Regions from separate parts of the Homo sapiens genome. Here all the other regions are linked to region 1. Evidence: promoter capture Hi-C in 16 types of primary human blood cells and fetal thymus (Javierre and others, 2016). All regions are on one chromosome and are shown on one strand. The core of a region is centred on a gene start or on the middle of the fragment in contact, and the rest is flanking DNA. Distances in the headings are between cores, read along the strand shown. Region 1 holds the start of NRN1 (neuritin 1). Region 2 overlaps FARS2 (phenylalanyl-tRNA synthetase 2, mitochondrial). Region 3 overlaps FARS2 (phenylalanyl-tRNA synthetase 2, mitochondrial). Region 4 overlaps FARS2 (phenylalanyl-tRNA synthetase 2, mitochondrial). Region 5 overlaps FARS2 (phenylalanyl-tRNA synthetase 2, mitochondrial). Region 6 overlaps LY86-AS1 (LY86 antisense RNA 1).

Region 1 (4,409 bases), core at 1,770-4,269:
TTGCACGGATTTTATTCTTCGGATTGTGCGTTTCCACTCCTAATCCCATTCACAGAATTCTAGAAAATCCTCAGTTCACAAAATTTCAAAGGTGAAAACAGCTTTGGAAATTACTTCATAGTCCACTCTCCTTCATTTTCCAAAGTGTGGGGGTCAGCCTGTGAGCTGGGTTTCCCTGCCCCTGTTCACTGCTCTTCCCACTGCATCTTCAACCCCAAGTATGATGTGAGATGAGCTTTTCACATTAATAAAAGAGGGAACGTTCTCCAAAGCCACCTCCAACCATGGATGCTACCGTTCCCAGACAGCATGCATTGACAACCATGAAATGCAATATCCTTTAATTAAAGAACTACGAAGAATCAACCCTGCATGGAGCCTGGACTGCAGAACGACCTGTAATTTAAAAGATGAGAATTTTTCAAAAAATAAAATGTCATGTGCATCTATCTACCCAGAAAATCATTTATGTAGAGTACCAACTCTGTTTGCCTCTCTCTTCTTCACTTTTAAAAAGACTCAGGCCTATGAGGGAGGTTGGGACGCCTGGGGAGGAAAATGAAGAGAGGAAAAAGTCAGCGGGGGTTCCCTCCCGGGGTAGGGCGGTGAGGCGCAGCCACGTCCCAAGGGCAAGAACCGGATCGGCCCGGGGCGCGGCGCGGGCGGCTGTGCGCACGCGCGTGGGTTCACCCGCTTCATTGAGGCCCTCAGCCCTGCCTACTCCACATCCCCAGCGCCCCACGCTCAGAGTTACAGGGGAGGGGTTGGAGAGGATCCCAGAAAATGATGCTGTGAAGATCCCAGGTGGATAAGCAGGAGGAAGGCAAGGACGTTGAGGGCAAAAAACCTTAAGCCACTCCCAAGCCTGGGCTCTGCACGAGTCTGAGCGAGGTTGGGGGCCCGCAGCTGGTGGCCTGGTCCGGGAAAGCTGGGCCGGCCCCACGCGGAACCCCGAGCGAGGGGCGGAGCCGTGGGCCGGGCCGCGTGGCAACCCCCCTGAGGCCCCGCCCCTCGGAAAGCCTCCCGCCCTGCCATTGGAAGACGTCGGGGGAGGGTCCGAGAAACGCCCCCCTCTCGCCACCAGCCCCCGCCCCACCCCTTGTCCGCCCACGTTTTCGGTTCTTCCCGGAGCCTCCGAGCTCGGGGAAAGGAAACACCCGGGGCCGCCACCGTGCCCCTGGACACCGGAAGGCGAGCCCCCAACCGCCCCGCCCGCAGGCCGGTGACATAACCAGGGGCGGGGAGACATGACTCCGCCCCCAGGGCCAGGAAGGCTGCATGGGAGTCTGAGGCTCCCGCGGGACGTGAGTTAGGGGCCGCACATTGCAGACACCTCACGTCACCAAGTGCTGCAGTAGGACCCCCGCAGCTTCCCCTCGGCCCCCTACCCTCCACAGCCTGTCCTACCCCCGTTATTTTGCACCTTTCTCCCCCTTTGTCTATGCATCTCCAAATATCTGAGTATGGGGACGGCAAGATTGGCCCTAGAGGGCAAGCTGCCTGTAGAAGCAAATTCAACGCTTCTCCTTAATCCGTGTGCATTTCTACAGTTTGACAGCTTGACGTCCTCTAGTGTAGTTTGGCAAAATTTGGGGGGTCGTTTTCATTTTTTTCTCTCCACAGGCTTAAGGATTAAAGCTGGCCAATGCCTTCTTTAGCATTTTATTAAAGACGCTACAATTTAGACTTTTTTTTTTTCTGTTTGGTGCAGAAGAAAGGAAGAAAACCAGAGCTTAAAGGCGTTTAGAAAGGAAATAGCCCTGTTAGTTTTTCGGTTTTGACTCAAGCTGTCGTCGATAGCAGCTTGCACCTAGCACAAAGCCAGCTGCAGAAGTATTTTGTTGCAGGGTAGGCTACACCTACACAGGGTCTGTGCCTGAGCATCAAAAGACAGTGCAGGTGTGTGTGGGTCCGGGTGTGCGTGTGCGTACGTGATGTACGTGTGTGCGTGTGGGTACGTGTGTGTGTAGCCCAACAAATAAGCCCAAGAGGCGCATCAAGATTAGAAAGAAGTCCGCACACCAGCGCTTGCCTTGGAAATTTCCTAAAGCGCTGAGAGTTGGTTGGTAAATCACTAGTATCCGAAAACTGTCTTATCAGAGGCTCCTTCCCCGGTGCCCTACTCGCCCCCTAAAACAGGTGTCGCTGTGTCCCTTGAAGCGGCCTTTGGCCCGCTGGGGCATCGCAGGTGGGTAAAATTCAGAGGACATTCGGTGTTTATTTCTGGGGCCCCACGTGTGCAAACCAAACCCCCGGGGCCTGGGCGTGTGCGCGCGCTCGCGTGCCTTGTGTGCGGGCGGGCATGGGGGCGCTCGGCGCGGCTGGCGGGCGTGCGCGCGCGCGTTTGTGTGTGTGTGTGTGTGTGTGTGTGTGTGTGCTCGTGCGGGGGGCCGGGCTGCGTGCTCACGCGCTCCAGGCTGCGCCCAGAGCTCAGCTGCTGGGTTGGAGAAAAAGAGGGTAGGCAAGCGCAGGGGGCGGGCGGCCGAGGAGCGCTTTCGAATTAATCGAGCTAGCTTAGCTGTTTTTCCCTCTCCCGCTCCTTTAAACCCCCCTGCATCGTAGAGAGCGGGCTGGATTCTCTGTGGTGCTGATGGAGGAGGGGGAGCAGGTTGAAACAATCGAGTGGGCGCGCCAGGACTCCCCAGCTCCTGGCGGGGAAGGGAGGGGGAGCCCCTGTTCTGCGCAGGGAGGCGGCGGGGCTGGGGGGCCCCCGGAACGAGGAAGAGGCAGGGGTGACCGCTAGAATAGGAAAGTGCTCACCCCCGGGAGGCAAAATTTCGTTCAGATCGCACATTAATTGGAGATATCTGATTAATTCCAGCTTCTGATGACTATAAATGGCGATTCTCTACCAAGGTGTCTATATTAAAAAAAAAATCATTCCGTGTCATCCCCCACGTCAGGCCTGCTCGTGGGCGTGAGGCTGTACTTCCTCCGCCCCCTTCTAATGGAGTGAACCATTCCCAGCTCTCCCCCCCCCCTCAGCCTCTCTCTCTCTCTCTCTTTCTCTCTCTCTCTCTCTTTCTGTCTCTTCCTCGCTCCCTCTCTTTCTCTCCTCCCTCTGCCTTCCCAGTGCATAAAGTCTCTGTCGCTCCCGGAACTTGTTGGCAATGCCTATTTTTTGGCTTTCCCCCGCGTTCTCTAAACTAACTATTTAAAGGTCTGCGGTCGCAAATGGTTTGACTAAACGTAGGATGGGACTTAAGTTGAACGGCAGATATATTTCACTGATCCTCGCGGTGCAAATAGGTAAGTGGCCGCTCAGCCCGGCTGGAGGCTGGAGGCGGGAGGCAGCCTGCCCCGGCCCGAGGCGCGGAGGGGGACTAGCGGGTCCGCGGCCGCCCCAGGGTGCGGAGAAGCCGGCAATCCCCCGAGGGTGGGGGCATCAGTTCCTGGGGACTAGCGCGTCCCAGATCGGTTTTTCCTAAAGCTATAGATTCCAAATGTTCGCCAGGAAATGTGTGCGGCCGGACATTTTCTGGACACGGTTTTTTTCCCCCTTTTTCCTGAGCACACATCCATTTTTGTTTCCCTTTCTGGGTTTATACCAGGTTTGGTGCGCTCTGGGGCAATGTACTGGCCCCTGCGATACTGCAAGATATGATTTTGAAGAGTCGAAATGTGAATGCAGGAATAAAATGGCTAGGCAGCCAGGACTGGAAAGTTTATGTGCTGAAAGCAAAGATATTCCAGGGCTCAGACTGCTGCATTTAGAACTTTGTCATTCTCCCGCCCCTCCTCCCCCCTATATCCTAGCTGCAGCGTTTGCACGGGCACCGCAGACCCGGCTGGTGGGCAAATCGAGAGTGATAGGGAACTTCAGACCACATATTTTAACATGCTTACCATTGAAGAGGATGAATTCAGCCAAATTTACGTAGATATACTTTTCTAGATGCATTTGCCTGCTACTTTACACATTGGTGTCTGCATTTTATATATAGGAAAGGGTTAAGAAGTGTTTGGAATATGTCATGTCGGGTGTTTGTTATTTTTGTTTGTTTGGGATTGGTTATGGAAGGAATTATTTAGTCCCCATTTTATGTTAAGGAATGTTGAGTTGTAGTTACGCTGTCAGGGGTCTTTTTAAAGTTCACATTTTTACCATCCAGAATGAAGAAAAGATATAGAAGAGGGCACTAGAAAACCCCCTTCTCCGACACTGGGTCAGAACATTAATTAACGTGGCCTAAAAGTGAAAGTGAAGCAGGTTATTAATAGAATGGACAACACGGGGGAAAAAAGAAACTCCTGAAACGGAATTGTTACCTCCTATCAGTTCAGGCTGTGGCATTCTTTGCAGACAAATCCTTGCAGTATTGGGGGAGGGGGTGCTTTAGGTAATTGGTTTGGGGCAAGAAAGGAGAATGCATAATATGTTTTTTCCATAAGAAATGTGAAGGAAACAA
Region 2 (3,788 bases), core at 434-2,933, 480 kb after region 1:
CTTTATCTTATAAGACATTGACATTTTGGAGAATCCTGGCCGCTTGTTTTATAGAAATGTTCCTCAATGTGAGGTTACCTGATATTTCTTCATGATTGGATTCAGGTTCTGGACCCCAGCTGTAACACTACAAAAGTGCTATGATGTCCTTCTCCAGGTGACACATCTGGAGACCCCGATGCTTACTTATTCACTTCAGAGCTCCTCTAGATCATTTATTTTTTGCTGTAAAACCAACCACCCCAAAACTTAGTGGTTTAAAACAACAACTATTCACTTAGCTCAAAGTTGGCTGGCCCTTTGGACTTAGGTGGAAAGTTCTTCAGCTCTCAGCTGGGTTTACTCATGCATATGTGGCCTGCCGGAACTCACATGTCTGGTGTTGGCTGCCTGCTGGCTGGGGCAGTTTGGTTCTCTTACATCATCCAACCAGCTAGCTTGGGCTTATTTATGTGGTGGTTGCAGGGTTCTAATTGCATCAAGAGAGCAAGCCCCAGGGTGCAATCACCTTTCATGCATCTGTTTTCATCATGTTTGCTACTCCCCTGATGGGCCAAAGCAAGTAACAGAGCCAAGTCAGATTCAAGAGGCAGAGAAAGACTGTCTACTCAGCCATTAAAAAGGCTGTGAGAAGCCATTAGAGTGGCTTATCTTGCAAAGTCTGTTCAGCTGCTTTACTCTAATATTCATTTACTCATTCAAATGATAATTACTGTGACTTAGGCTGGGCACAGCGGCTGACACCTGTAATCCCAGCACTTTGAGAGGCTGAGGCAGGTGGATCACGAGGTCAAGAGATTGAGACCATCCTGGCCAACATGGTAAAACCCCGTCTCTACTAAAAATACAAAAATTAGCTGGGTGTGGTGGCAGGCGCCTGTAGCCCCAGCTACTCGGGAGGCTGAGGTAGGAGAATCGATTGAACCCAGGAGGCGGAGGTTGCAGTGCGCCGAGATTGTGCCACTGCACTGCAGCCAGGCGACAGAGTGAGACTCTGTCTCAAAAAAGAAAAAAAAGTTACTGTGACTTGTTTTTGTACAAAAAATGTGATAGATGCTTTCTGGCAAACAATACCATATAAAGGAAGGAGAAAGAAACATTGACTTGCTCATCACGAGTCAGAAAATATGACCTCATTAATTACCACATCAACTCTGTTAGGTCACTATCACTAGCTCCATTTTATAGATAAGAAAACTAAAGTTTAGAGAGTTTAATTTGTCCTAGATTATACAGCTATCTAGAAATAATTTTGGCTGCAAGCAATAGAAAACTCTATTAAAAGTGATCTAAATAAGAGACATTTAATTTCCATAAAAAGGATTCTGAAGATAGGCATTTCCAGATTTGGTACAGGAGCAAGAGGATGCCACTGAAGACCCTTGCTCTTTTTATCTTTCTGCTCCAACATCCTTAGCAGGTCAGCTTCCATTATTATTATGGTAATTTCATAACTACAAAATGGCTGGTCGATCTCCAGTCACCACGTATCAGTCAGGAGGAAAGCAGGAACAGTTCCAGTGTGCATGACTTACATACCTGTTGCTTTTATAGGGAAACACAAGCTTTCCCAAGGGTCCCCAACTGTCTTACATTTCATTGCTCCAAACTGGTTTGCTTGACCACCCTTAGATTTAAAGGATGTGAAGAGCATAAGTGCCTGGCTTTTCCAAACTCTGGAGTGGATGTATGTAAGGACAAGTGGTGCTAGGACTGCCACTGAGTCAGTCAACCAACAGCAAGCAAGTGCTCGATCTGGGATGTGAACCCAGGTATGCGTAACTCCATAGTTCAAGCTTTCAAGGGATGTTTACTTTGAAAGCAGAGAGAGAAAGACCTATAAATACATATGCAAATCAGTGCCATGAGTGTTAGAAATTAGGTTCTATGGGGTGACAGAAGAAGAAGAGGTCACTTTAAACATCCTGAACATGGATGTTTTGGAAAAGTCAGTCAAGTATGGTCTTAAATGACATGTAGGGGTTTTCAAGGTGAACTAGGCACAATGACATATATGTACCTGTAGTCCCAGCTACTCAGGAGGCTAAAGGGGGAGGATTACTTGAGCCCAGGAGTTCAAATCCAACCTTGGCAACAGAGTGAAACCTCCATCTCTTTTTTTTTTAAATACAAATTTTAAAAAAGGTAAAGATCTTCCAACAAGAAGGAAAAGTAAACACAAACATACGAAGATAGAAATGTGAAATGAAGATGAATTGACCAAATTGGGATAGGGTATTGCAGAACCTTTTGAAAACGTAAAGGGAATAGTTATGCCTTGCTTAGCATTTATTAATAGTTAAAGGCTAAATATACTGACTTGCATATGATCTACCAAGGACTCACATACCACCTCCTACATCTCCCTTTGACTAGCCCCCAGTACAGCATTATGTCTTTCATCCTTTTCCCTCAAATTTCAATCTAAGTTCCTGGAACTCAGAATTAAGTATTGTTAAGCAGATCATTGCAACAAACAGTTTTCATTCAGCAAAAGATACATTTCCTAACAGTTTACCAGTCTTGAACAATTTCCATTTTTCAGATAGAAGTTGTTTTTGTTTGATTGTTTGTTGTGGTTTGTTTTTAGTTGCTTGAATTGAATTGCATACAGAGCTTCAGGGAACAATATATTCCCCCAAATTTATAGGCAAGACTTTAAAAATCTGAGTGATATTTTAAGTGCATTAAAATGATCATTATTCAAATAATCACTTTCAACTTAATGTGCATTCTTCATATATCAGTTTTTATAATGTGAGTCATATCCATAAGAGGAGTTTGAGGAAACACTGTTGAAACATTGTACAGAGTTGTGAGTGTTGGGAAATATTTTCATTTACTTCAACTGTATTATTAAATTCCTTATTAACAAGAGTTATCAAAACTAGGCCACAAGTAGAAAGCTAACTAGAGTTTAGTGAGTTCACTACAGTAAAAATAAGTCTTTCGGAAAGAATAGAGCAGAAGGGAAAGGAAATTGAATAAATCCTCTGAGCCAAAATTATGGAGACACTATGACTGTAGGAGATATGCCGTTGGACGGCAGGGTCAACGCAGTCCCTCTGACAAATGCCATGAGACTTTATTGCTGTGATTCCACTCACAAAATAGACTTACAGGGTCAGTTCCAGCTTGGGAGAAGCACTGGCCCAGCACATTGCTGACTGGTGAGAATATAACCGAAGAGTTGACAGAAAGAAAAAAACAGTGGATATAGCAGTTGAATAACTTTTATGTATATCTATATAATACTGTATACATTAAGAAGACTGTCTGATTCCTTCCTGAGTGTGGAGAATACGAAAACCCACTGATAAACCTTTTAAACACTTTCACCCCTTGATGAAATTCTTGAAGTATTATGGTACATATACTTATCTGTTTCTTTCTGTTAAGAAACCAGGCATAGGCCAGACGTGGCGGCTCACACCTGTAATCCCAGCACTTTGGGAGGCTGAGGCGGGCGGATCATCTGAGGTCAGGAGTTTGAGACCAGCCTGGCCAATATGGTGAAATCCTGTCTCTACTAAATACACAAAAATTAACTGGGTGTAGGGGTGGGCACCTGTAATCCCAGTTACTCGGGAGACTGAGGTGAGATAATTGCTTGAACCTAGGAGGTGGAGGTTGCAGTGATCCGAGATCCTGCCATTTCACTCCACTGGGCAACAAGAGCGAAACTCCATCTCAAAAAACAAAAAAGGAAAGAAAGAAAAAAGAAAAAAGAAACCAGGCATAATAGTGGCTTTCATATCTCCACTAGAAAAATTGCTTTCCAAAATAAA
Region 3 (3,887 bases), core at 758-3,257, 440 kb after region 1:
ATTAAGCTAGACCAAAATGAAATTGACATCTGCTTATATTCGTGTAGGCCCATCGTGCATAGTTTTACACATTTCTATAGGCTCTCCTCTGATTACAATAACACTAATTAGTCAATAAATAACGTTTGAGGTTCTACCTCATTTGTTCAGCATGCAAGTTCCATTTACATACTAACGGCTGCATATTTGCCTTTAATAGATGCACGATGTGGAAGTAAGTATAATAAATGAATAACCGTTTGAGTGAAAAGTTACCAAGTCTTCACGAAAAATTTGAAAACGAAACAGTCAGTAAGTCTATTTATTTCTTCTATACTAGGAAATAAAGCTAATCCCAGGATGAGATGATAAATGGAAATTATTTCAGAGTGGCACAGTAATGGAAGTGGCTCAGTGATTCTTCCACAAAGAAATGTGCAGAACCTGACGGATCAGGCTTGGCTTCTGTGGTTTGAAGCTGGAAATGCGTGCACAGCTGTGGTGACAGTGCAGATTACCCCCGTTTCCAGAGGTCTGCCAAAAGCTTTTCTTGTTCCAGTTCTAGCATCTATTAAACAATCAGGTTCTCCCCGTCAGCAATCATGTTGTGGTTCTGTGCCCAGAGGCATCACTTTTTGAGGTTGAAATAACCTATTAACAGAGTGTCTTCCATTCTCTCTTTTTTTCTTTAAAAAGGCTAAATGGCGTAATACAATTTTCTGTGCAGCAGGTGTGTAGTTAACAAGGTGCTAATTGGGAAACTGGGTGAGAATAATAAGAAACTCATACAAAACTGGAAATCTGAACCATGCAGGAAGAGGGCAACTGAATTACCTTACAATATGCAAAAATTATGGTAATACAATATTAAAGATGCAAATTTAAGCCCAGAAGAGTGAAATAAAGAGAAGATGTTGTGGTTTTTATCACTGCACCAGAATGCAAAGTGCACACCATAATACTCAAAATTGTCAAAACTTTAAACAAATAATGCAAGTCAACTTTCAATATCATCGTCTCTTCTCATTTCCTCACATATCCACCAAAATAAACACCTTAGGAAGATGTTCCAACTATTCAAATCTAGATAGCACTTTCTAGATAGAACATTTTATTCTATCTTTTTTCTTTCACTTTTCAGTCCTTGGTCAAGGAAGAAATATTTTCTGCTTAACAGACAGAAACATTTGGGAGAACAGACCTCCAAAAGCTTAATACAGCTATGATTAAAAAGAAATAACAATGTGAGTTTGGCTTTTGCTGATGACTAGCATTTACATAACCTGTCCTTAAGCAAGGTTCAAGAATTGAAGGATCCTTAAAGAGTCCAGCATGTTGGGCAGGCAGGGAAGAAACACTGTATGCCTGACCCTGACATCCGTCTTCTACCTCTCTCCCCAACCCCTGTTAATGCAGTCCTCTTTTCTGGAGGAAGCTTTCCTTTATCTTACCTGTTGACCTTTGCACTCTGTCCTCTTGACAGCCATTCCCAAGCATCAACCCATGCCAGTGCTTGCTCAGCAACTACCTCTCCCCCATAACAATATGCCCTGACTTCACCTCCCCTGGACCATCCTCTCTTAAAGGGCTCAGCTCTGACTCATCCTCCACAGTAAACAACCCTGTTCCAACTTCTCACTTCTATCTTGGCCTGAGTTGTCACTTGGGCCAGCCATACCTAAGACCAGTTGCTCAGCTGAAGACTTGACTATGCCAATTAAAACAAACAAAACAAAGACAATGACCACTACCACCACCACAATGAAGTTGTTTAAATTCACATTTTTATATTCCTGCTCAAATACGGTGGCTCACGCCTGTAATCCCAGCACTCTGGGAAGCCGAGGTGGGTGGATCAGTTGAGCTCAGCATGGACAATGTGGCGAAACCCCATCTCCACAAAAACTATACAAAAATTAGCCGGGCATGGGGGCATATGCTTATAGTCCCAACTACTCAGGAGGCTGAGGTGGGAGGATCGACCGAGCCCAGTTGGTCAAGGATGCAGAGAGCCATGACTGTGCCACTGCACTCCAGCCTGGGCAACAGAGTGAGAACCTGTCTCAAAAAAAAAAAAAAAATTATACTCCTGTACTCACCTGGCCAAAATTGAACTCATCATCTTCTTCTCCAGACCTGTTTTTTCTCCTGTTTCTCATCTACCCAGCTCCCAAGGCAGAAACCTAGGAACCATTTTCTTTCTGGCTCATGTTTACCTACTGTGATTAAACACCCACTTTACCCAGGTCAATCCCAGTTTGCACCGAGACATGCAACACAGTTATTAACAGTGCCCCTGCAAGTCTCAAAGGCAGCCAGACCCCAATTTAGGTGTTAAGCCATAGGGTCACTCTGCCTCTGCCTCACATAAGGATCCAAGATCTTTCAATGTTTTCTCCTAAAATTTCCTGAGCCCAACCCTACCTTCTAGTCTCTCTGTTACTACCCTACATGATATCACATCATTTCTTCTGTGCCGGGCCTCGAGTGGGCTCCTAGCCTCATGGCCCCAATCTATCCTCATCTTATCCGCACTGGGATCTGTCTAAAATAGAAATCTGATCACAAAATTGGATGTCTTGCTAATTGCCTTACAGAAACCATTCAAAGCCTAAGCTTTGCGAGCTAAGTTTGCCACTGCCCACATTCCCCACACTAACTCAGCACACTCTGCTATAAACACCCTACACTGAACCACAGACTATGGCTGTCTCACGCCTCCAGGACTTTGCTCACACTTCTGTCTCCTTCCCATTACTGGACTGATTGCCTGCCACACAGTGCAGACTCCTCAGGCCTAGCTACCTTTATCAAGCACCTATACATATTAATGCCCCTCCCTCACTAGTGCGGGAGCTATCTGAAGGCAGGAAACTATACTTCCTGTGTCCCCAGGGTCAAGCACGGTGCCTGGCACAAGAGCAGATGCTCAGAAATGTTTTATAAATAATTAATAACGCTCTTGTGTTTGGGATAAATCCTGTTGAATGTCACATACATCAACAAAAATCTTAATAAAGAGCAGAGAAATCACTCCCATTGTGGATTTATGCAGCCTGGGACCATTTCCCCCTTGCTATGTTGACAGTTGAACGTGAATCAGAACCGCATATTACAAGAGTGACAAGAGACAGAGTGAAAGAAAATGCCACATAGAGAAAAACAGCAAGAGACACAGACAGAAAGGGGGAAGGACAGAGACAGACCAGACAGAAGCAGAGAGAGGGCTTGCACTCTGCACTGTTCACATAATCACAAGTCAACAGAGAAACACTCATCTCTTTTCACAACAACTTTTTTAAGCTGGCAAGATTAAGTCAAGATGAATGTCAGGAGTAACAATGCAATCTGAGGTACACAGAAGAGGAGATAGGAAAATCCTACTCACTTTCATAGCATCCTAGAATAAGGAGTGGCCTTTGAGAGTATCTGAACTTATTTTACCAGTGAGAAAATGTAGTGACAGAACAGTCAGGTGAGTGACCCAGGGGAAAATAGCTAGCGACTAGCTAAATAATTCCAAGGCCTCTAAATTTCAGATCTCTTCTGTCTCATCATACACTCAAAGATGATGTTGGGGATGGATTTGACTGTATGTCGTATATATGCATAAACATGGGCAGAATTTTAAAAGACTCTTAGAATCAACTCTTTATCCTCCATCTATTGTCTGAACCTTAGGAATCTTAACATGTAGGACCTAGGGTGATGACACCAGGCTATACTCAACAAATAGATATGTATCTAGAAGAGTAACAGCAAGACAAAGAACGAACCTCAAAAACCACATCAAATAATATCAGTTCCTTGTGGCCAGTAATGGTCTAAATGTGATATATATTTTCAACCATCATGCTTAACAATGTAATCTGTACTGGCAGCAATTTGTTTGCAGCAATACGATGGCC
Region 4 (4,163 bases), core at 1,625-4,124, 340 kb after region 1:
CAGATTGTTCTAAGGGCTTATCCAGCTCTGATGTTCTAGAATTCTATGGGTTTGGCTGGATGGCTCCATGTTTGGTACTGATAGTGATTTTCTTAAGGGGTTATCTTTAATGCCAAATGATATTTTACTTTTCCCCCAAATTTTCATTTTGTTTATATTCACTTTGTTATATTCAACAAAGAATATAATCTTTTTTTTTTTTTCTTGAGACGGTGTCTTGCTGTGTTGCCCAGGCTGGAGTGCAGTGGCGTGATCTCGGCTCATTGCAGCCTCCACCTCCTGGGTTCAAGCGATTCTCCTGCCTCAGCCTCCTGAGCAGCTGGGACTTTAGGCATGCACCACCACACCAGGCTAATTTTCGTATTTTTAGTAGCGATGGGGTTTCTCCATATTGGCCAGGCTGGTCTCGAACTCCTGACCTTGTGATCTGCCCACCTTGGCCCCCCAAAGGGCTGGGATTACAGGCGTGAGCCACTGTGCCCAGCCAAATTTAATCTTTATTTTTATTTTTTAATTTTTATTTTAAGTTCAGGGGTACATATGCAAGTTTGTCATATAGGGAAACTTGTGTCATGGGGGTTTGGTATTCAGATTATATTGTCACCCAGGTATTAAGCCTAGTACCCATTAGTTATTTTTCCTGATCTTCTCCCTCTTCCCACCCTCCACCCTCCGATAGGCCCCAGTATGTGTCCATGTGTTTGCAACATTTAGCTCCCACTTGTACGTGAGAACATTCAATATTCGGTTTTCTCTTCCTGTGTTAGTTTGCTAAGGATAATGTCCTCCAGCTCTGTCCATGTTTCTGCAAAGGACATGATCGCATTCTTTTGTATGGTTGCATAGTATTCCACGGTGCATATGTACCACATTTTCTTTATCTCGTCTACCATTGATGATCCTTTAGGTTGATTCCATGTCTTTGCTATTTTGAATAGCAACGAATACACATGTGCATGTGTCTTTATAATAGAACAATTTATATTCCTTTGGGTGTATATCCAGCAATGGGATTGCTGGGTCAAATGTTAGTTCTGTTTTTAGGTCTTTGAGGAACTGCCACACTGTTTTCCACAGTGGTGGACCTAATTTACATTTGGATATGATCTTAACCACATTTTAATTATTTTGTCTGTTTGTCTGTCTTTGCCTCCAGTGTCTAGCACTGTGTAGGCCTGGTATACAGCAAAACTATCATGTACTATTTATTAAAATAGCACTGCTCTCTCTCCTTGCAACTGGAAGGTTTCCTGGAACTTTAGGCACTGTGTAGTTCTTCTATAGTCAGGCTGGCTGCTCTCCTGACTTGAACTCCTGGCAGTGGAGGGGCAGGTTGGTGGCATTTCTTTCAACTCAACGCAAATTCAGGGACCTGCAGTGGCCATTAACCAGCAAGTGTTTACTGAGCATATTTCTGTGCCTGACACTACATAAAAAGCAAAACAAACAATATTGTTGACTCTTACTTATGTTTCTTTTAGTTAGGAAATAAATATTCTAAGTTAGTTGAGGGAGTTACTGGATTCTTCCTTACACAGCCCATCATTCCTGGCACTAAGAACTGCACACATGAGGTACCCAGTATTTTGGGTTTAGTTGAGTTCAATGAACCAATAAATACCATAGTCTTTTCAAGTGCGGTACGCTAGACCTGCTATGCTATGAATCTTCCCTTCCTCCCTCCAGATCCTGCCATGGAGCCAGAGGTACTTCCCTTCCCGGGGTCTCTTCAATGCCAGTGCCTGTGCGATTACAGCCACCTCCTCTCCAAACCCTCATGACATTCAGCCACCTCACCAACTCCTCCCACTCAAGGAAGGGTGGAATTGTCCTAAAAAGGAAGCAGAAAGCTCTCACCTCCTGCCAAGAAGCTGCCCAGTAGTTGGTAGTAACTGGCTTCTCACTTACCAATTTGAGTCCTTCCAGGGTCTGTTTTGTGAAAGGATGAAAAAGGCAATACTATACAGTTAAACCTCAAAGGAATTAGTTGAAAGAAATTTCCATTATCTTTTCAAATGGCTAAATGCATCTCAGCCCCTTATGTTTCCAGACATTGTTTAGAACGTCCTTCTCTCTATCCCAGATCACTAACATGCCTGCTCTGGGATATGTGGTTCTGGCTCAGACAACCTGATCTGAGGGGGGAAATAAATATGATAGAAACATAAAGCTTACTACCTTATTATCAACCGGTTAGAAATCACCTCATCCACACACACCCAGGCCTCTGTGTCTCTCTGACAGTCTCCTCTCAAATCTCTCTAGAGTCTGTGAGACTACAGCTCCGAGAAATGCTTCCTGTTTTGAAGATGGAGCTGCATCGTGACCTCCGCACACCTGCCTAGTCAGCATACCCCAGCATTCTTGCAGCTGTGACCCATGTGCTTAGCAGCACTGTGGAGTGCCAGCCTCAGCCACCCCTGGAGAGAGCCCGCAGAACCATGGCCCCTATTCACCTGCCAGCGGACCATGCTGCTTGTCAGCGGAGGCTCCAGATGTCAACTCTCCAGGGTGAGCCATCAGTCAACATCCTGGCCATCGGGGTTTTTGGGTGAGCTTCCTCAGGACAATGGTCTCATGTGACCGCCCAGCTCTACTTAAACACATTTAGTCCCTTCACAAATAGCCTGTCCTTAGAAAGCTCTTTGTGAGGAGCTGAAATCAACCTTTGATAACTTTCTTCCCACTGGTCTTTGTTTTGCCCTGAAGCAACAAGTATACTCCCTTTTCTCTTTAAAACAACAAATAAAACAAACAAATGAAAAAATGCCTCAGCATCACTGTATATGAAAGGATACAGGAAACCAGATGAAGAGAACTGGCAGGACCAAAATAATAAAAATGAAGTATCTTTGTGAACAAGTTAAGAAGCAGGAACAAGACTTCTAATCTCTTCTCCGTCCAGCTGCCCTTGAGCTACTGAATGATAGACCCATAGGAATCTTCAGAGATCACAGTTATATGCCTACGCTGAGGAAGCGTCCATGTTGGTGCTCTTAAGGACTAGGACTAGGATGAGATCCATCCTCAACATCTCATGTCCTACTAAGAGAGACAGACCAGTCTACAAGTAAGCATAACACAATGTCCACTTCTTATTCTAAGAACTTATAGTCATAGATTATAGGATATTTTGTGCTTTTGAGATGATGCTTTTAATGGATTAATTATTCATTTAAAACAGAAGTGGAGGAAACCAAGGGAAGTCAGCTTACTACCTTATTATCAAGCATGAGGTCTGGATATAACCTGTGAAATCATTGGTGCAAGACCAAGCAGACTCTGGGCGAGGGATCCATGCCCAAGGCCTGGAAGCCAGCTCCCAGGGTGACAGGCAAAGGCCTCGGCTCCCCTGGCAGGACCCTCGGTGTAACACTGGCTGCCTTGAAAGCATTTTCTAAGTGGAAATGAGTCAAGGGGGTCCACTTGATTCTCAGCCACTTGGATAGTCTTTGACTTCCAAGCCCTTTCTCTCCTCTCCAGCACAGGGGAGTTCCTATTTTCAGCATAAAATTAGCATAGAGATGAAACCATTTCAGGGAGCATAGAATGAACTGACACAGGAGACATTAAGCTTTCTGTTTCTAAAATGAAAAAGTTTTCCTTTTTCTTTAAAACCCCAAAGCTGCCACTTAATTTGTGTTCAGATTGCACTTTCACTGCAGAGCTGCTAACAGTGGGATACTGTTCAGAGGGGCTGAGGAGGCCAGGGGGGCCACAGATCTGAGCTGTGAACACAGCCATCTACTGTGGGGCCACTTAAGCACCTGCAGTCCATGGCCCTGGCCAGCGTGCATCCATCCTTTCTGCCTGCAGTAAAGACACCAGTGCAGCCCAGGTGCGCACAGTAGTGCTGAGTACATCTTCCCTGGAGATCTAAGGAGCAAGACCTGGTCCTGCTCACCTCCATGTCTGTCTCTGGCTCCCCTCATATCATTTCAAAGACATCTTCCTTGTTCTTTTGGACAGGATTTCTCTTCATCTCTCTTCCCACTGGAAAAATGATTCTAAATAGCTGGACTGGGACGAATGACAAATCTGCCATGGAGCCCGCGCCACCCCTTCTTCCACACCAACTTTTGTCTTTTTTTAGGTTTTCTCACATCTCTCCTCTCCGCTCTTTTAAGCTCTCAAGTCCTCTCCACTTTTTCTTTAGTGGATTG
Region 5 (4,153 bases), core at 763-3,262, 500 kb after region 1:
CCCTCACTCCCATATTCTCCCATGTGAGACCTGTGCTTCTGCCATAATGAACTATTTGCAGTCCCCAACCTATGTTCTCCTTTTTTTATGCCTACTAATGACACCTAGCACACACAGTTCCTGTCACCTACTTTGTGCTTAATACATATTTTTTGCTGAAAAGAATGAATGCATGAAAGTGTTTGTGTTTTTACATTTACTAGGCCTTCTGCTTGAATTGTCCTTTGTCACCAAATTATCAATGTCTTTATCACATTTGAATCTCGGGTGCCTGGCACAGCATCTGTAACCTAGGAAATGCTGAGTAATGTTTTCAGACTAAATGGATGGACAAATAATTGACGGGCAAACCATCTACCTTAGCTTAGGACACAAAGTGGAATACAAGTAGGTAGAAAGCAATGATTTCTCCTTCATAAAGACACCCAAAAGCCTTTGCTAATTTCCTTCAGGAACATGAACAATGCAAGTCTTGAGAGGTAAAATCAGAATAAATTATTAGTGACCCCAAGGAGAAGACATGCCCTTCTTGTTTCATTTTGTTTTTAATTTGGCTGCTATTGATTGAGGTAGCATAGAGGTAGCACCAGGTAATGGAAAGAGCATTGCCCTGGGAGTCGGAGGACCTGAAGTCAATTCCAGAACTGGCTCTCCCTCTAATTAGCTGTGTGGCCTGAATTCAGCTGAATCAGAAGCAAGCCCACCCCCCGGGCCTCCTATTATGTGAGCAATTGAATTTCCTTTTTTTGCTTTAGTTGGGTTTCTGACTCTTGGAACTAAAAGAGTGCTGACTAACATCCCATTCTTATCATCTCTTGTGGTTGCATTTACTGGGCGGGTAAGCCAAAAAATGCCATAAATAAAGCATATTCTGATTATAGCAAAGCACTTGGCTGAAGTCCCTAGAATATACTCACAAAAGAGAAAAGAGGACTCAACTGTTTATTTAGATGGATCTGAAACTTGTTGAACCTTTATATGTGAAAAGTTCTGATTAATGAATGTGTACACATGGAAAGAGGTTTCTTGTATCCTCTAACAGACTCCTGAACCTGTCCCTGTTCTATTTAGGGTTCTCAGCAGCCACTCAGAGAAATAAAAGGGGTGCTTATGAGACTTCTAGATCCCTCAAAGCTAGAAGAAATCATTAATATAACAGAGGCATGAGTCAAGATTCACCAGTTTAATGAGGAAAACAGAGAAAAGGCATGGTTAGGGCCACAGGTCTACGAAATGACCCTTTTCCTCCAATAGCCCTCCTAATACATTACCTGGCTTAGGCATTACCTGGCTTAGGAAATGAGACTCTTCTGTTTTTCTCTTTGGTTTTTATGGCTTGTAATGAAGTTTCTTGTCTGCTTGTGTGTTTTTATTCTACTTTGTGCGCAGGGTATTATTTCTTAATTGTACCTATTCCTGGAATTATTTGGGAAACTTGCCCATTTGTGATTAATTAGCTTTTTGATTATTATGTGTTTAAGAGCCTTGTGCCTTCAGGCATGTGCACCTAAAAATTAAAATGTATTAATACGAACATAATGAAATCAATATGATTTTATGTAACTGCATGATTTATGCTTATTGAGGAAGTTATTTAAGTATAATTTATAGGTTAGTTCTTACAGCACAAATGCTTTCCTTCTCCTCATTTTCTCTTTTTCTCCTGCAGGAAAATTGCAAGATCCCTTAAATACCTTCTCATGTACAAAATCTTCATCTTGGCATCTATCATTCTTTCTTGTTCTTACTTCTGTCCCTCTACCATTCATGTGCTGGTTTGACTAAACGTTGGACCAATCTGGGGTGAAAGTGTGGGACACTTGTGCCATCTGGCCTCTCCTTCTCCCTCCTGTGTCTTGAGAGAGAAGGGAAGCTCAGTCCCCTCTGAGCTCAAGCATGGGAGACAACTCAGGCTCTGATCCTCAGGATCCCCGCAAGCCCTGCTGAGGGAGGGAGAGGAGGAGATCTCACATCAAGCCCACTGGGGGGCTGCATCTCTGCATACCGGTAAAGCCCAGCACAGACAGGCACTCCTAGGCATCGGCCTGCCATTAATAAATACCAGCTCATCTCTCATTGGCTCATTAACTTCCTGAGGTCATCTCCTCTGACAGTGAATCCCCAAAAGGACAAGAGGACAAGAGGGGGGTGGGTGGGGCTCAGACACAAGGCTGGGAACCCGTTCTACTACATATGGGGTCAAGCTCATCACTGTGTCAGCACTCACGTACTCGCTTCTCACGCGGCCAGCGCTGGTGAGTGTGCTAGCTCTCTAGCAGGTCCAGGGGCTGCAAAGATGAGTGAGACACAGGCTCCGCACACAAACAGCTCACAACCCTCTCCCGCGCTCAAAAGGCACCGTGTGCCCACCGTGTGCAAAGCCCTGGGCGTGCGGCGGGCATTCAGGAGCTTAAAGACTAACTAGGGCGAAAGACAGGCCAGGCTGCGGCGGAACTCACGGTCAGACAAATGCTCTCTGAGGTCTGAAGGGGAGAGGCTGCTTCAGCTCCGCAGTTCTGTTGGGGTTGCCTGGAAGGAGGCAGGCCAGGATGGCACCCTGCAGGGAGAGGGCGAAGGGACCAGGCAGCATCTCCCCTAAGGGGTCGACCCAGGCAGAGTCTTCCCTAAGGGGTCGACTAACTCATCTGCCACCCCTGAGGAAAAATAATGTAACGTTTCACTCTGCAGATATCCACAGAATCACTGAACTAAAAAAAAATTTGAAATGAGGCAAAATCTTTGTTTAAATAGAAAAGGGAGCAAAAACCAACCAACCAACCAAACAAACAAACAAAAAACCCCTCCAAACCCCAGCCTTTGGTTGTCCTATAAAAATCTAGCGGTGCTGCCTTCTTGCCATCTATCCAGATGACACTCTCCTTAATCCCCAGCCCAACACTGGCGGGCCTCACAAAATGTAGAGCTAAAATTACAGTTAACACCACCATAAAGAGCTCCACATTAAATGAGAAAACAAAATTGGGCGACATAATGTATTTTGAGTAAGAGGAAAATAAACCAGAAACGATGTGTATATATAAACATGTAGAGGAGTGTGCATATGCTATGTGTTGGTATATATAGATGTTGTGTTGTGGATAATGCTCTTCCCAGTAACCTGTTTTTTAAAAACCAGCACACTCCAGCAGGTATCCCCATAAAGAAACCACCCACTTTCTGCAGAGACCACAGTCCCCACGCTCAGTCTTTCCTGCTGAGCTTCCACAGCTCTCCCGCTCTGGCGCCAAGCTAGATGGACCACCCTCTGGACATCCTTTTCTCCATCATTATCGACTCCTTGGAAAAGTAAGCCACTCACAAGTAGCTGGGACCTCTCGCCTTACCCTTAAGAACCCATTTTCCTGCACTATGCCCATCGAGTCTGCCCCTTGTCTGCCGAGCTGCACTGGAATTGTAAAAACCAGGACCAACTGTGTCCTACCAGGAACAACTCACTTCCCCAGTGTGCTCACGAGATTTCTTTGTGACATTTTCATCAGCTACGTGGTGTAAACTAGGAGCCATTCACCAGACGGAGGGGCCGCTGCTTTAATCAAACCTTGTAACTTGTTCCCTTTCTCTTATCTGCATACGCAAACCCAGTGTCACCCTCGAGCTCCACGCCAAGGAATGCTGGGCAGGAGAACCTGGGCAAAGCTGGAAGTTTAGTATCTCAGGAAGACAGTGTTCTCAGCAATTCTGATTGGGTGAAATGAAATCTTGGCTACAAGGTTAACAGCTTTTACCTAATGTCTACGTCTATTCTCTAAGGTTGAAAATGTTTTTTCATCCCTTCTATCAGGGATTGGCAAACTATGGTGTGGCCCTTGGGGCAAACACAGCCACACGCATGCATGGATGTATTTCTCTGGTTGCTTTCACACTACCATGGCAGAGCCGAATAGTGACAAAAATCAACTGGAGACCAGCCCGCAAAACTCAAAATGTTTACTATTTGGTCCTTTACAGAAAATGTTTGCTGACTCCTTCCTTTATATTTGTCACTAAATACTGTCGTTTCTTCCTCCGAAAGTCTTCTCCATTTCTCAGTGCCCCCTCATTTCCAATGATAGTACTATGATTCAAATTCTGTCCACCTCTCCGTGCGGGATAGCTTCCCATTCCAGTCCGCCCTGCGTACGGCTGCCTGGCT
Region 6 (4,219 bases), core at 56-2,555, 500 kb before region 1:
TAAACACATTTTAAATGTAAAAACACAAATAGGTTAAAAGCAAAAGGACAGAAAGAGATACATTATGTTAATAAAAAGAAACTGTATTGGCAATATGAATGTCAGACAAAGTGGATTTCAGAACAAAATAATATTAGCGATAAAGAGGGATATTTCATAAAAAGGGGTCAATTACTCAAGAGGACATGACAACCCTGAACATTTATGTACCCCAAAATAAAATTTCAAAATACGTGATAGAACTGAAAGGAAAAATAGATAAATCTATAGTTACAGTCAGATATATCAATCTCAATAATGGATAGAAAAATTAGGAAATCAGCAAAGACTGGGAAGACTTGATTAACACTATCAACTGATTCGAGCTAATTGCCTTTTATAAGACACTTTATCTAACAACAAACTTTTTGAAGTGCGTATGAAAAATCTACGAAGATAAAGAGATAGTAAACTTCTTAGGGTACGCATAAATCATTAACTGAATGTTGGTGGAAATATGAACCTAAAGTCCATTCCGGTGAGGTCTCACAAGGAGATGAGGAACATGTTGTTGGAAGCTGCAGGAAAGATGATCTCTGTCATAATGTGGCAAAGAACGGACTGAACTGTCTTCTAGTGTTTTGTGAAGGGGGGTAGAACTTGTGAGTGATGAAATTGGAGTTTTAGCTGAGGAGATTTCCAAGCAAAGTGTTTGAAGAAATGGCTTGGTTCCTCCTGACTGCTTACGGTAAAATGCAATAAGAGAGAAGTGAATTTAAGAAGGAAATGTTAAGCAAAAGGAAGCAGAACTTAAAAGTTTGGAAAATTTTTAGCCTATCCATAATGCAAAATATAAAAAGCTTGTTCTGAAGAGAAAGCTTGTTCTGAAGCCTGAACAACAATTTGGGAAGGAGATTAGTATCGGTGTGATGCAGGCACCTAGACACCCCAGCAGAAACATCGACAATTTGAACTGAAGGAGACAGAGCTAGAATGAAATAAAGAAAGGCCATCAGACTTCTTAGATAACTACAGGACTGGACCATAGAGATATTTGGCTGAAAATACACACTATTCTTCAAGACAAGGGAAGAATGACCCTGAATGGGATTCAGAGATCATTCAGAGTAATGAGTCCAGAGCTAACAGGCTGCACTTCAGCAGTAACATTTTATTTGACTAGCACTGAGTGAGCTTCCTCACTCCTGTGAGGATATGGTAGTTTCCTTCTTTTATTCTCAACTCAACTTAGAAAAATCAGTCAATAGTCAGTGGGTGATCTTCTTTACATAGGAAGTTGATGACAATCCACTAAAATTACGCAACTAAATTGTCAACTAATGTGACCATTACATAATGAAAATATTTAATAATGAAATTTCCAAGACCATCAACAGGCAAAGAAACTTGACATCTTTCAAAGTTAATTAGCAAATGTTTATCAATAATGCTTATTTTCTTAAGCGTTTTCAAATGAGATAATTTTAGATATTTTCTCATTGAGTGAGGCATCATGTAGTGTTTGGGATGAGGAAACAAAACTAAACTGTGTTTTGGGTTGCGTAAATGTCAGAGATCAATGCATTGTTAAATAGAAGGCATTCCACTTGGGAATGACTCCTTTAGTCTTGGTTCTGCCCTTCATGTGAAAATGGAACATTCAGAGAAGCCTTATTTGCTATTGAATATCTTTCTCTACAAAATTAGAAACAAATAACTAAGCCAAGGCTAGGTTTTGTGTCAATCAAATGAATGGGCCTGTAGATAAAGCTTTGCATTAGGATTCCGACGTCCCTGGCACAGAGATGGATTTTTCCCCCTTCATTCAATAAAGAATTCTACTGGAAAAAACTGTGGTATTTTCATGGGTAGAATAACTCAACTTCGTAAAGTTCTCCAGTCAATTCATAAATGTAATGCAATTCCAACAGCCTTTTAACCAGTTAAATAGATTGTAAACATCTTGTGAAAAAGTGTATAAGAATGACCAGGAATATTTTAAAAAAGAAAAACAATGAAAGAGTACTATCTTTGTTTGATATCAAAACATATTTTAAAGCTACCAGAATTAAAACAATGTGGTATTGGTGCATGTCTAGGAAAACCAATAAATGAAACAAAAAGTTCAGAAGCAATACATATTACTAATTTAGTAGGTGATATAGATGGAATTTTAATACAGTGAAAGAAAATAGGGAGTACCGAGTTAACGCTTTTGGATCATCTTTATAATTATCTGGTAAAAGACTGAATTTCCATCATACATATTATATACACAGAAATCTACAGATTGGCTACAATTTAGGTGTTCAAAATGGGAATTAAAAGTATTATAAAAGCATATAAGATTCAGAAAGTTTAAATAGATAAATATTTTCTAATAATAAAACCATTAAAAGTTGATAACATTTTTGACAAAACAATAGCATTGCAAAAAATTTTAAACAAAGTGAAAACACAAAAGGAAAAAGGGCCAATTTCACATATATAAGCATATATATTTATATGAAGACCAAAACCCAACAGGAAAATAAAAAAAAAAGAAAGGATAATTTATTTCTTTTCCTTTCTTTCCCTCCCTCCCTCCCTTCCTTCCTTCCTTCCTTCCTTCCTTCCTTTCTCTCTCCTTCTCTTTTTCTTTCTTTCTTTCTTTCTTTCTTTCTTTCTTTCTTTCTTTCTTTCTTTCTTTCTGTCTGTCTGTCTTTCTTTCTGTCTTTCTCTCTTTCTCTCTTTGTTTCTTCTTCCTTTCACAGGGTTCCACCATGTTGCCCAGGCTGGTCTTGACCTCCTGGGCTCAAGAGATCCTCCTGCCTTGCCCTCCCAAAGTGTTAGAATTACAGACGTGAGCCACTGCAAATGTCCCTGAAGGGGTAACTTATAGTAAAGAAAATATAAATGATTGTTCTCAAATGAAACAAAATGGTGTTCAACTGTATTTATAATAAAGGAAATAGTAATTAGAATGATAATGATGCATAATTTACTTACCTATTTTTAACCTGTAACATTAGTAATACATGCTGCATTGGTTAGAATGTACAGACATAGGTTCTTTCATATACTGTTGGTGGAAATGTAATTTGGTACAACCTTTACACAGTGCAATGTAGCAATGCCTTTTAACATGCAAGATGCTTATACCCTTTGACCTTCTACGAACTTAAGCTCATATTATTAACTTTAGGTGTACAATGTTTTGTTATGTAAACTACATTTAACTAATTATTAGGTTGATGCAAAAGTAATTGCGGTTTTGCCATTACTGTCAATAGCAAAAAACAGCAATTACTTTTGCACCAATCTAATAGTTTGCTTCCAATTTTTTGCTACTATAAACAGTGTTGTAATATAATCTTTTAAAATAACTCTACACACTTGTATTATTTCTGAAGGACAGATTCCTGTAAGCATAATTGTTGAATCATTTCTAGCTTCTCTGAGTGAACCTGGAAAAATAAACTTGAAATTCAAGGCCTATTATAGATGCCATCAGTAAAAAAAGAACCTCCTTTCCTTTCCAAATACTTCTATCTACTTTTCTTGATAGTTTCTGCACCTGCCTTCAAAAGTTCACATTTTCGTTACAGTTTTTCTTAATTTGCCTCTATCTCTGCACTGTCATGGCTACTATTCATAGCATTTACCTTCATAAAAAATAGCCACAGTTACTTAGGACTTTACCTTATTATAACTTTTCTTTTTAAATGGATTTCCATTTGTTGTGTCTAATTTTTCTTAGTGGAGACAGTAGAGGTCTGCTCAGAGCAGCTTAACCAAGCCATCTGTGTGTACGGAAAAGCAGAGACAATTAAAACCTGTTGACAACTTTGGGCAAAGCTGTGGGCCTCATGTTCTCTAATTTATGTGAGAAGCTGAAGAACAATCAGTTCAAGCTGGTTCTTCAAAGAGGCACAGCCTGTAACACACTTTTGGCAGGTCAGCATCTTTGCACTACAGCAAAGAGGTATCTGAGTCCAAAGAATTCTGAGATGTTCAGTAGGAGTCCACGAACAGGGCCCACGAAAACAAACACACACATTGCTACAAAGAGAAGAGCAAAGTTGCTGCTGTTTTTTTTTTTCCAGTTTTCCATGTAACTTTATTTCTCTGTTAACAAACAAGCATACTGCATAGTGTCCCCATCCCACTGCTCAGTGCAGTGTTATCAGAAATTTCCAACATTGTCAGCGGAGACACACAGGTGGCTAAGTGCTTGGGGAGGCAGTGGTGTGTGGAAAGG

What was found. The method cuts DNA at HindIII sites, captures the fragments that hold promoters and counts their contacts. A CHiCAGO score of 5 or more calls a contact.
Region 2: a contact is called between a fragment that was not itself captured here and the fragment with the promoter of NRN1 in region 1, in 1 of 17 cell types (naive B cells). The highest score is 5.4, in naive B cells.
Region 3: a contact is called between a fragment that was not itself captured here and the fragment with the promoter of NRN1 in region 1, in 1 of 17 cell types (naive CD8 T cells). The highest score is 5.3, in naive CD8 T cells.
Region 4: a fragment that was not itself captured here is called in contact with the fragment with the promoter of NRN1 in region 1 in 5 of 17 cell types (fetal thymus, non-activated CD4 T cells, naive CD8 T cells and 2 more); the score reaches 6.8 in fetal thymus.
Region 5: a fragment that was not itself captured here is called in contact with the fragment with the promoter of NRN1 in region 1 in 3 of 17 cell types (naive B cells, total CD4 T cells and naive CD8 T cells); the score reaches 6.6 in naive B cells.
Region 6: a fragment that was not itself captured here is called in contact with the fragment with the promoter of NRN1 in region 1 in 5 of 17 cell types (M1 macrophages, M0 macrophages, M2 macrophages and 2 more); the score reaches 8.2 in M1 macrophages.

What each region holds. Positions count from the first base shown.
Region 1 is chr6:6,005,535-6,009,943 of GRCh38, reverse strand. It overlaps NRN1 (neuritin 1), which reads left to right and starts at 3,019. Exons shown (of 3, transcript NM_016588.3): 1 at 3,019-3,249. The coding sequence starts at 3,195. RefSeq lists a silencer at 969-1,088. The HindIII fragment of the contact is 16,379 bases long and covers 1-4,409 here.
Region 2 is chr6:5,526,540-5,530,327 of GRCh38, reverse strand. All of the region lies in intron 4 of FARS2 (phenylalanyl-tRNA synthetase 2, mitochondrial), which reads right to left. Among named protein-coding and RNA genes, the nearest start is that of FARS2-AS1, 70 kb to the right of the region's middle. RefSeq lists an enhancer at 338-947. The HindIII fragment of the contact is 231 bases long and covers 1,568-1,798 here.
Region 3 is chr6:5,567,412-5,571,298 of GRCh38, reverse strand. The region is part of intron 5 of FARS2 (phenylalanyl-tRNA synthetase 2, mitochondrial); the gene reads right to left. Among named protein-coding and RNA genes, the nearest start is that of FARS2-AS1, 110 kb to the right of the region's middle. The HindIII fragment of the contact is 1,181 bases long and covers 1,417-2,597 here.
Region 4 is chr6:5,663,561-5,667,723 of GRCh38, reverse strand. The region is part of intron 6 of FARS2 (phenylalanyl-tRNA synthetase 2, mitochondrial); the gene reads right to left. It overlaps LOC101927950 (a long non-coding RNA gene), which reads left to right. Exons shown (of 4, transcript NR_110842.1): 4 at 2,266-2,739. Among named protein-coding and RNA genes, the nearest start is that of FARS2-AS1, 210 kb to the right of the region's middle. RefSeq lists an enhancer at 1,308-2,507. The HindIII fragment of the contact is 1,404 bases long and covers 2,173-3,576 here.
Region 5 is chr6:5,508,759-5,512,911 of GRCh38, reverse strand. The region is part of intron 4 of FARS2 (phenylalanyl-tRNA synthetase 2, mitochondrial); the gene reads right to left. Among named protein-coding and RNA genes, the nearest start is that of FARS2-AS1, 53 kb to the right of the region's middle. The HindIII fragment of the contact is 8,689 bases long and covers 1-4,153 here.
Region 6 is chr6:6,505,901-6,510,119 of GRCh38, reverse strand. All of the region lies in intron 3 of LY86-AS1 (LY86 antisense RNA 1), which reads left to right. Among named protein-coding and RNA genes, the nearest start is that of LY86, 81 kb to the left of the region's middle. The HindIII fragment of the contact is 892 bases long and covers 860-1,751 here.